Regions from separate parts of the Homo sapiens genome. Here regions 2 and 3 are each linked to region 1. The links are contacts of gene promoters, found by promoter capture Hi-C in blood cells and fetal thymus (Javierre and others, 2016). All regions are on one chromosome and are shown on one strand. The core of a region is centred on a gene start or on the middle of the fragment in contact, and the rest is flanking DNA. Distances in the headings are between cores, read along the strand shown. Region 1 holds the start of LIN7B (lin-7 cell polarity scaffold B). Region 2 overlaps TRPM4 (transient receptor potential cation channel subfamily M member 4). Region 3 overlaps TRPM4 (transient receptor potential cation channel subfamily M member 4).

The links. Contacts are between HindIII fragments. The CHiCAGO score rates a contact against its expected background, and 5 or more counts as called.
Region 2: a contact is called between a fragment that was not itself captured here and the fragment with the promoter of LIN7B in region 1, in 1 of 17 cell types (megakaryocytes). The highest score is 5.2, in megakaryocytes.
Region 3: a fragment that was not itself captured here is called in contact with the fragment with the promoter of LIN7B in region 1 in 1 of 17 cell types (endothelial precursors); the score reaches 6.4 in endothelial precursors.

The regions. Positions count from the first base shown.
Region 1 is chr19:49,112,896-49,115,856 of GRCh38, reverse strand. LIN7B (lin-7 cell polarity scaffold B) reads right to left here and starts at 1,487. Exons shown (of 6, transcript NM_022165.3): 1 at 1,416-1,487; 2 at 890-1,008; 3 at 526-597. The coding sequence starts at 1,452. RefSeq lists a silencer at 1,088-1,667. The HindIII fragment of the contact is 9,910 bases long and covers 1-1,845 here.
Region 2 is chr19:49,209,675-49,212,635 of GRCh38, reverse strand. TRPM4 (transient receptor potential cation channel subfamily M member 4) reads right to left here. Exons shown (of 25, transcript NM_017636.4): 21 at 2,231-2,427; 22 at 1,794-1,926; 23 at 1,549-1,621; 24 at 1,367-1,472; 25 at 800-1,142. The coding sequence ends at 1,138. Among named protein-coding and RNA genes, the nearest start is that of TRPM4, 53 kb to the right of the region's middle. RefSeq lists an enhancer at 1,367-2,005. The HindIII fragment of the contact is 8,012 bases long and covers 1-2,961 here.
Region 3 is chr19:49,191,299-49,194,259 of GRCh38, reverse strand. All of the region lies in intron 16 of TRPM4 (transient receptor potential cation channel subfamily M member 4), which reads right to left. Among named protein-coding and RNA genes, the nearest start is that of TRPM4, 35 kb to the right of the region's middle. The HindIII fragment of the contact is 1,803 bases long and covers 574-2,376 here.

The sequences.
Region 1 (2,961 bases), core at 238-2,737:
CTTTTTCTTTCTTTTTTTTTTTTTTTGTATTTCTGTGGAGACGGGGTTTCACCATGTTGGCCAGGCTGGTCTCGAACTCCTGACCTCAACTGATCCACCTGCCTCGGCCTCCCAAAGTGTTGGGATTACAGGCGTGAGCCACCGTGCCTGGCCTCAATCTTACTTTTAAACAGAGGAAAGCCAGGCCTGGAGGGAGATCTGAGCCTCCGGACAGCAGCAAGAGGTAGCAGCATCTAACTATTGTGCAGTGAGAGGTCAGAGCGCCATGAGTTTCCTGGTTTGCACTGTACAGATGTTGAAGGTTATCTTCTACCAACCATGCCATACTGTTTCCATTTGCAGTTGCTAAAGATGCCTTAGTATGACATTTAAGTTAAAAATGTGCGATTATTTACTAATAGTAAGGTGGCACATAGATTTAGCAAAAATCATGAGGGAGGAAACAGAAATGACTGGCATGAAGGAGATATTGAGTTCGACTAGGCAGTTAAATAGACACCAGGAGCAATGGGGTGCGGGGCCCACCTTGGCTGTGGCATGGGCTCGGATCTCGGCGCTGCCGGTGATGTCCAGCGTGTCATAAAGCTGCTCATACACCTGGGTGAGGAGGCAGCGGCATCAGGGAGTCGCCAGCTCCTCCAGCCCTAGACGCAGGAGTTCAGGCCTCTAGACCCTCTCCCGCTACCACGCAAGGATCCGCCCCGCCCCCGCAACAGAAGGCCGAGAAAACTACAACTCCCGAAGAACCCCTGAGCTGAAGCGTTGGCACCCCAAGGCGGGCCGCCTCGGGAGCTGCCGGGAGGCGTAGTCTCCGGGCTCGGGACAAGCAGGAGGAGGAGGAGGAGGACGACGGCCACCAGCTCGCGCCCCTGCGCCGCGCGCCCCTCACCTCTCGGATAGCGGAGCAGAAGCGGCTCTGCAGAACTCGCTGGAGGGCCTGCAGCTTCTGCGGCGGCAGCTCCCCGCTGCGCTGGAGCCGCTCGAGGAGCTCAACCGCCCGGGACACGTCTGCGGGGCGGGGGCGGGGCGCAGAAACCCCGAGTGTCAGAGACCCCGAGACGCAGAGAAGCAAGGAGAGCGGCGGAGTGAGGCCGAGCGCACAGTCCGGGGAGGACGGCCGAAGCCTAGTCGGACACCCCGCAGAGTCCAGGGTGGCGCAGGAGAGACTGCCACCAGCGGCCCTGCGGCCCCGGGACCCCTCCACAGGCCGGGTTGTAAGGCGGGCGCCCAGCGTCCCGGCCCGCGCCCAGGGAGCCTCCCACACCTAGCGACCGCCCGGCCCCGGCGCCCGCCCCGCCCACCCCCTCCGGGTCCGCTGGCCCACCCGCACTGGCCTGACCCGGGAAGGGCGGGGACCGGGGGCTGGGTATGTAGGCCGCGGCCCGGGTGGGCAGGGCCCCCTGGCGCACGCTTACCCCGCTCCAGCCCCAGCGGCTCCACCAGCGCAGCCATGTCGGCGCCACAGCTGCCAGCCGCCCGCCTGCCCTGGCGCCGGCGAGGAGGGCGGGGCTGCGCGAGGCCACGCCCCGGGCCACGGGCGCCCCCTGCGGAGGCGCAGCCTGGAGAGCGCCCAGCTCTCCCTCGCCCGACTGCTCCGACCACCTGCCGCGCGCCAGCCGCGCCCTGCCCTCCGCCCCGGCCAGTCGGTCCTGTTGGCGACCCCTCCCACTGCAGGTTCGGTCTGTGTGTACCTTTCAGGATCCGTGTCTGCCTGCCCTCCACACCCGTCTATCCCCTGTCCATCCTTTCCCCACATTCATTCAACAAACTCTTGTGAAACATCTGAGCCCAAGTCATGGACACCGTGGTGAGCAGGACAGCCAAGCCCACGGCCCGAACGAAGCTTCCAGTCTATAGGGGAGGTAGACGACCAACTACGGCTGTGATGAGAGCTGAGAGTGGGGAGGTGATGATCTAGAAAACGAAGGAAATCCTAGAGGAGGGACATTGACATACAGTCCTGGGAGGTAAGATGAACAAGAGGTGGAGCTTGGGTCACCCCCACCACCCAGAAAGAGCCCACGTGGCTGGAAGCAGAGTTAGGATTGGTTGATGATGAGGTGAAAAGGTCGGCAGGATAGTTTATGCCTGGGCTCCTGCGTTGGCATATGCGCCTTGAGGATTTGGGGCTTCATGCAAACTCCTAAGAGAAAAATATGACACTCAAATTTGTATTATTATTATATTATTATTATTATTATTTTTGAGACGGAGCCTCGCTCTGTCGCCCAGGTTGGGCCTCAAATTTGTATTTTAAGATCACTGGGGCCGGGCACGGTGGCTCACACCTGTAATCCTAGCGCTTTGGGAGGCTGCAGCAAGACTACTTGAGCCCAGGAGTTCAAGACCAGCATAGGCAATATAGTGAGACCTCGTATCTATTGAAAAAAAAAAAATCACTGTAGCCACTGTGGAGACTGGTTTGGACAAGAACAAGAGGAGAAGCAGCGGGGCAACTTACGAGGCTACCACAGCCATCCAGGTGGCAGCTAGCACCAGGGCCAAAGCACAGAAGATGGGTGGGCAGATGTGGGAAATGTCTAGACAAGCCTTGGTGCTTGGCTATATAAGGGGATTGGGAGGTGCAGGAGAAGACAGTATTAAGGTGCTTTGGTGCCATTTTTAAGATGGTCTACACTGAAAGAGGGATACTGGATATTTTGTTTTTGAGACACAGTCTTCCCTCTGTTGCCCAGTCTCGAGTGCAGTGGCGTGATCTCGGCTCATTGCAACCTCTGCCTCCCGGGTGCAAGCAATTCTCCTGCCTCAGCCTCCTGAGTAGCTGAGAGTACAGGTGTGCACCTCCACACCTGCCAAATTTTTGTATTTTTCATAGAGATGGGGTTTCACCATGATGGCCAGGCTGGTCTCGAACTCCTGACCTCAAGTGATCCACCTGCCTCAGCCTCCCAAAGTGCTGGGATTACAGGCGCGAGCCACCTTGCCTGGCCGATACTGGAT
Region 2 (2,961 bases), core at 144-2,643, 97 kb before region 1:
AAAGGAGGGAGGGAGGAAGGAAGGAAGGAAGGAAGGAAGGAAGGAAGGAAGGAAGTAGGTTACATTACAGTGATTATTACTACTTGGGTTGGTGAGAACTAACTCAGCATCTTCCAGAGAAGTTGCAGTTGCCACACAACACTTGGCAATGTTTCAACGCTACTCTGCACCCACGGTGACAGATACTTGGATCTCCTCCAATTTGGAGGAAGGATGTTTGGTTTTGATTTTTGGATGTGTTGGTTGTTGGTGGCTTTCTTGCTATTTAACTAATGATTGCTGTCAGTTCAACCTTGTCATTACCAGTTTAGCTTGTTATGGGTTATTTAGTTAAGCTGCATGTATAATCACACATATTTGCCTCAACCCTGTGTGCGCCTGGCCTGCAATTTCCCACTAATTAGACTTTTTAAAGACACGTATGCATTTATCTACTCAAATTTGCATCATCCGTTTCCCTATTGCCAAAGCAGATGTACACAACACCCACCCACCTCCATTCCAGGAAATAATTTGCTTATTATCACTGAGTTATTTTTCCACTGGAAAGTTGAAACTGGGTGGGAGGGGGTACAGATGGGGTCTTGTCCTACTGAAGCGAGAGCCGTCAGAACAGTGCAGACAGAAGTGCTGGGTCTCCGGCAAGAACAATGGGGCTCAAGGGAGGAAACGGACTCCAAAATATCTGAATTACAGCAGCAAATCCACCAAGAACCCCAAACCCAACACCCCAGCTCCAGCTCCCATCCTGGATCTAGACACCCACCAGCTCCCCCAGGAATCAAGCCTCCGGACACGATTCCTCTGAAATGGCTTTATTTCCCCAGTGTGAGGAATCTGTGAGTGGTGAGGGGTCTGTGGTCCCTGTTACCCCAAGGACCCTGCAGCCTCCAGATGGATAACGGCCCGGGATCCAGGCCTTGATCCTCCCAGGCTGGGACTGGTTCTGGGAGGAGCCGGGCATGCTGTGGTTTGTAAGGATGACACTCCCAAAGGTGGTCCTGACAGTGGCCCAGATGGACATGGGGCTCACCTCAAGGACAAGGCCACCAGGTGCGGGGGCCGAGGCCCAGATGAGCCTTACTCTAGGAGCAAAATCCCCTGTGGGGGCTTCTCCTTGAAGTCCGCCAGCAGGGCTCAGTCTGGGGGAAGAGAGAAAAGAGAGAGCAGGTGATTGGCAGGGAAGGGGAGAGACAGAAAAACTGGGAGACTGGCAAAAAAGAAGAAAGACGAAGGCGAGAGTACAAAAGGCTCAAAGGAGACCAAGAGAGTGACCCAGGGACACTGGAAAGGTGCCGAGAGAGAAAAACACGCAAAAATACAGGAACAGAGGCTGGAGATGCACAGGCTGATGCTACACACTGACCTTTGGACCCAGGCAGGTCAGGGGGTGGCGGCCCACCTGGGGGCAGCAAGGCAGAGCGGCTCAGGGCCTCGGCCACCCACCCCAGGACGCGGCTACACTGCTGGACCTGCGGAATGGGAGGAATGTCAGAGCGGGAGATGGGACCCCTGCCACAGTCCCCCAGCCAGGCCCCAAGGCCTCACCTCCCGCTCCAGCACTTTCAGGCGCTGTTCGTACTCGCGGATGTGTCCCAGCTGTTTCAGTGCCAAGTCCACCCTGAGAAGGGAGGGCCTCTTACCGGGGGCACCCGCAGCCCACCCACCCCCAGGGCTCTGCCTGCTTCCCGGGCCTCCTCCCTCTCTCCCTCCCTCCCAGGACCCTGCCTTCAGCTGAAGTCAGGATCCGCCCCAGGCCAGAAGCCCCATCCCCGACCAGGCCCCGCTCTCACTTCTGGGACGTGCGCTTCAGACGCTCGGAGTCGCTCTCCCGCTTGTCCCTAGCGCGTGCCAGCAGAAAGTTCTCCTTATGCACCGATTCCCACGTTAGCAGCTTCCGCTCGGCTTCCTTAGAAAGGTAAACCCCTGCAGGGGCGGGCGGAGTCAAAGGGCTCAGGCCACGCCCCTTCCCAATCCCAGCTGCCCCTTCCGACACCCTCAGAACACGCACGCTATCCCAGACCCAGCCCCTGGTGATTCGAGAACATGCCCCGCCCCTCACCCGTAAGCACTGCCCCTCAGTGCTTAAGCTCCGCCCCTTGTTGCTTAAACCCCGCCCCTCGCTACCTAAGCCACGCCCGTTAGTCATTTGGGGCATGCCCCCTTCCCCTCGCCTTCCAGGCTCCCGGTCCCCTATATTTCTCCTTTTTAAGCCAAGCTCTGTTCTTACGGAAATGCTCGAGGGCCGGGGAGGACGGCTGGGGGCTCCGGGGTCGCCTGCACAATTGCCTGAGCAGGAGGCGCAAGTGGGAGATGACGATAAAGGGCGGGGCCAGCGCGGGCCGAGAGTGGAATTCCCGGATGAGGCGGTAACGCTGCGCCTTCCAGTAGAGATCGCTGTTGCCCTGTACTTTGCCGAATGTGTAACTGCAAAGGCCAGAGGTCAAAGGTCACTTGAGGTCAGGGCCCAGCCAGGGGCAAGGACGAAGGTTAGATGCCAGGCAATAATTGTTCAGTCTATAGCAGCAGACAGAAGTCAAGATCACTAAAGTCAGAGGTTACAGGATGCGATTAGAAGTCAGGTTAGAGCCAAGGGCGTTTGGTCACGCCTGTAGTCCCAGCACTTTGGGAGGCCGGAGTGGGCGGATCACCTCAGGTCAGGAGTTCGAGACCAGCCTGGCTAACATGGTGAAGCCCCATCTCTACTAAAAATACAAAAATTAGCCAGGCGTGGTGGTGGGCACCTGTAATCCCAGCTACTGGGGAGGCTGAGGCAGGAGAATCGCTTGAACCCAGGAGGTGGAGGTTGCAGTGAGCTGAGATCGTGCCACTGCACTCCAGCCTGGGAGACAGAGTAAGACTCCATCTCAAAAAAAAAAAAAAAAAAAAAAAGTCAGTTTAGAAGGGCCAAGGGTCAGATGTCAGAGGTCAAGTTGGGATGGTATCACGGTATAAGGTGGA
Region 3 (2,961 bases), core at 226-2,725, 78 kb before region 1:
GGAGAAGGAGAAGGAGGATGAAGAGAAGGCAGAGGAGCAGGAGGAGGAGGAGCAGGAGAAGGAGGATGAGGAGAAGGCGGAGAAGCAGGAGCAGGAGGAGGAGGATGAAGAGGAGGAAGAGGAGAAGGAGGATGAAGAGGAGAAGTAGGATGAGGAGAAGGCGGAGGAGCAGGAGCAGGAGGAGGATGAAGAGGAGAAGTAGGATGAGGAGAAGGCGGAGGAGCAGGAGCAGGAGGAGGATGAGGAGGAGGAAGAGAAAGAGGATGAGGAGAAGGAGGAAGAGGAGGAGGATGAGTAGGAAGAGGAGGAGAAGGAGGAGGAGGATGAAGAGGAGGAGGAGAAGGAGGATGACGAGGAGGAGGAGAAGGAGGATGACAAGGAGGAGGACAAGGAGGAGAAGGAGGAGGAGAAGGAGGAGAATAGTGAAAGCTACAGAAACTAAGAACTCCTAGAGAAAGAAGGTCAGATGCAGAGAGGACAGCAAGCTCCCTACTGATAGAGAAAACCATCATGGTATTTCACAGTTCTCCTGCAGAATCCTGGTAAGAAGGGAGAGCGGTGGGTCAGAAAGCTTCCCCCACATCTGCCATCTTGAATCACCTCCAGCCAGGCCACAGGCAGGTTCCTGGGCTCAGCCCCAGCCTCTCTGGGGGGATCTTGGGATCTGTCCTTCAACAGAGCTCTCAGTGGGGGGGCTCCACAGGGGCTGAGAGCACAGACTCAGGTACAAGAGGATCTGGGATCAAATCTCGGCTCTACCATTTACCAACCACATGATCTGAGGCAAGTGACTGAATGACTCCATTATTTCACCTGCAAAATGAGAATAATTATAGGCCCTATTGCACTGGGTTGTTGGAATTAAACGAACTGATTTCCGGACGGGTGCGGTGGCTCATGCTTGTAATCCCAGCACTTTGGGAGGCCGAGGCGGGCAGATCACGAGGTCAGGAGATCGAGACCATCCTGGCTAACACGGGGAAACCCCAGCTCTACTAAAAATACAAAAAAATTAGCCGGGCGTGGTGGCGGGCACCTGTAGTCCCAGCTACTCAGGAGGCTGAGGCAGGAGAATGGTGTGAACCCGGGAGGAGGAGCTTGCAGTGAGCCGAGATCATGCCACTGCACTCCAGCCTGGGCGACAGAGTAAGACTCCATCTCAAAAAAAAAAAAAAAAAACCAACTGATTTTCAAAAGAATTGAGCACAGTAGTTGCTCATTGTACGTGTTTCATAACATCAGCTGTTATCAAGGTCGTCATCATCATCACATGTGCAGATGAGAAATTGCTAGGGAAGGACACCATTACTGATCCTGACCTCAGACACTGGGGCCTTCTATCAACCTTTCTCAGTGGTCCAAATGTTTATCTTAGTTTTTCCCTTCTCTCTTGATACATATTTTGTTCTTTTTTTTATTTTTTGACGTTTATTTTTAGTTCAGAGGTACATGTGCAGGTTTGTTAGGTAGGTAAATTTGTGTCATGGGGGTTTGTTGTACAGATTATTCCATCACCCAGGTATTTAGCCTAGTACCCACTAGTTATTTTTCCTGGTCCTCTCCCTCGCCCTACCCTCTGTCCTCCAATAGGCCCCAATGTGTGTTGTTTCACTCTGTGTGTCCATGTGTTCTCATCATTTAGTTCTTACTTATAAGTGAGAACATGGGGTATTTGGTTTTCTGTTCCTGTTAGTTTGTTATGGATAATGGCCTCCAGCTCCAACCATGTCACTGCAAAGGAAATGATCTCGTTCTTTTTTATGGCTACAGATAAATATTTTGTATCCTCTCTACATTGTCTTAAAAAACTATATATAGGCCAGGCATGGTGGCTCATGCCTGTAATCCCAGCATTTTGGGAGGCTGAGGAGGACAGATCACAAAGTCAGGAGATGGGGAGCATCCTGGCCAACATGGTGAAACCCCGTCTCTACTAAAAATACAAAAAAATTAGCTGGGCGTGGTGGCAGGTGACTGTAATCCCAGCTACTTGAGAGGCTGAGGCAGGAGAATCGCTTGAACTCAGGAGGCGGAGGTTGCAGTGAGATGAGATCGCGGCACCGCACTCCTGCCTGGCGACAGAGCAAGACTCCGCCTCAAAAACAACAACAAAAAAAGAAGTTTGATAAATATTCTATTTCATTTGCTTAGGCCTGACTTTTAAAATACCTTAACGGCAACCATAGCATAGTGATTAAAAGCAGGGGCCTTGGGACCACGAACAAAATAGGTGAAAAATCCCTCAATCAACTGATTCCGCTTGCTACAGAGGGATGGAAGTATGTGTAGCATGAAGAAAATCAATTTCTGGTGATGGCCTCCTTGATGGCAGAACCAAATCTTGAGCCAAGTCTTGAGCTTGGCACCTGGGAAGCTTCCTCAGTATCTCAGTCCCTGATGGGACGTGTGATATAGTTTGGATGTTTGTCCCTTCCAAATCTCACATTGAAATGTAATCCCTGGGCCAGGCATGGTGGCTCATGCCTGTAATCCCAGTACTTTGGGAGGCTGAGGCGGGCGGATCACAAGGTCAGGAGTTCAAGACCAGCCTGGCCAATGTGATGAAACCCTGTCACTACTAAAAGTACAAAAGTTAGCCAGGTGTGGTGGTGGGCTCCTGTAGTCCCAGCTATTCGGGAGGCTGAGGCAGGAGAATCGCTTGAACCCAGGAGGCGGAGATCACACCACTGCACTCCAGCCTGGTCGACAGAGCGAGACCCCATTTCAAAAAAGAAAGAAAGAAATGTAATCCCTGGCTGGGCCCGGTGGCTCACACCTGTAATCCCAGCACTTTGGGAGGCCAAAGTGCGCGGATCACTTGAGGTCAGGAGGTTGACACCAGCCTGGCCAACATGGTGAAATCCCGACTCTACTTTAAAGATACAAAAATTAGCTGGGCGTAGTGGCATGCACTTCTACTCCCACCTACTTGGGAGGCTGAGGCAGGCTGATCAGGAACCC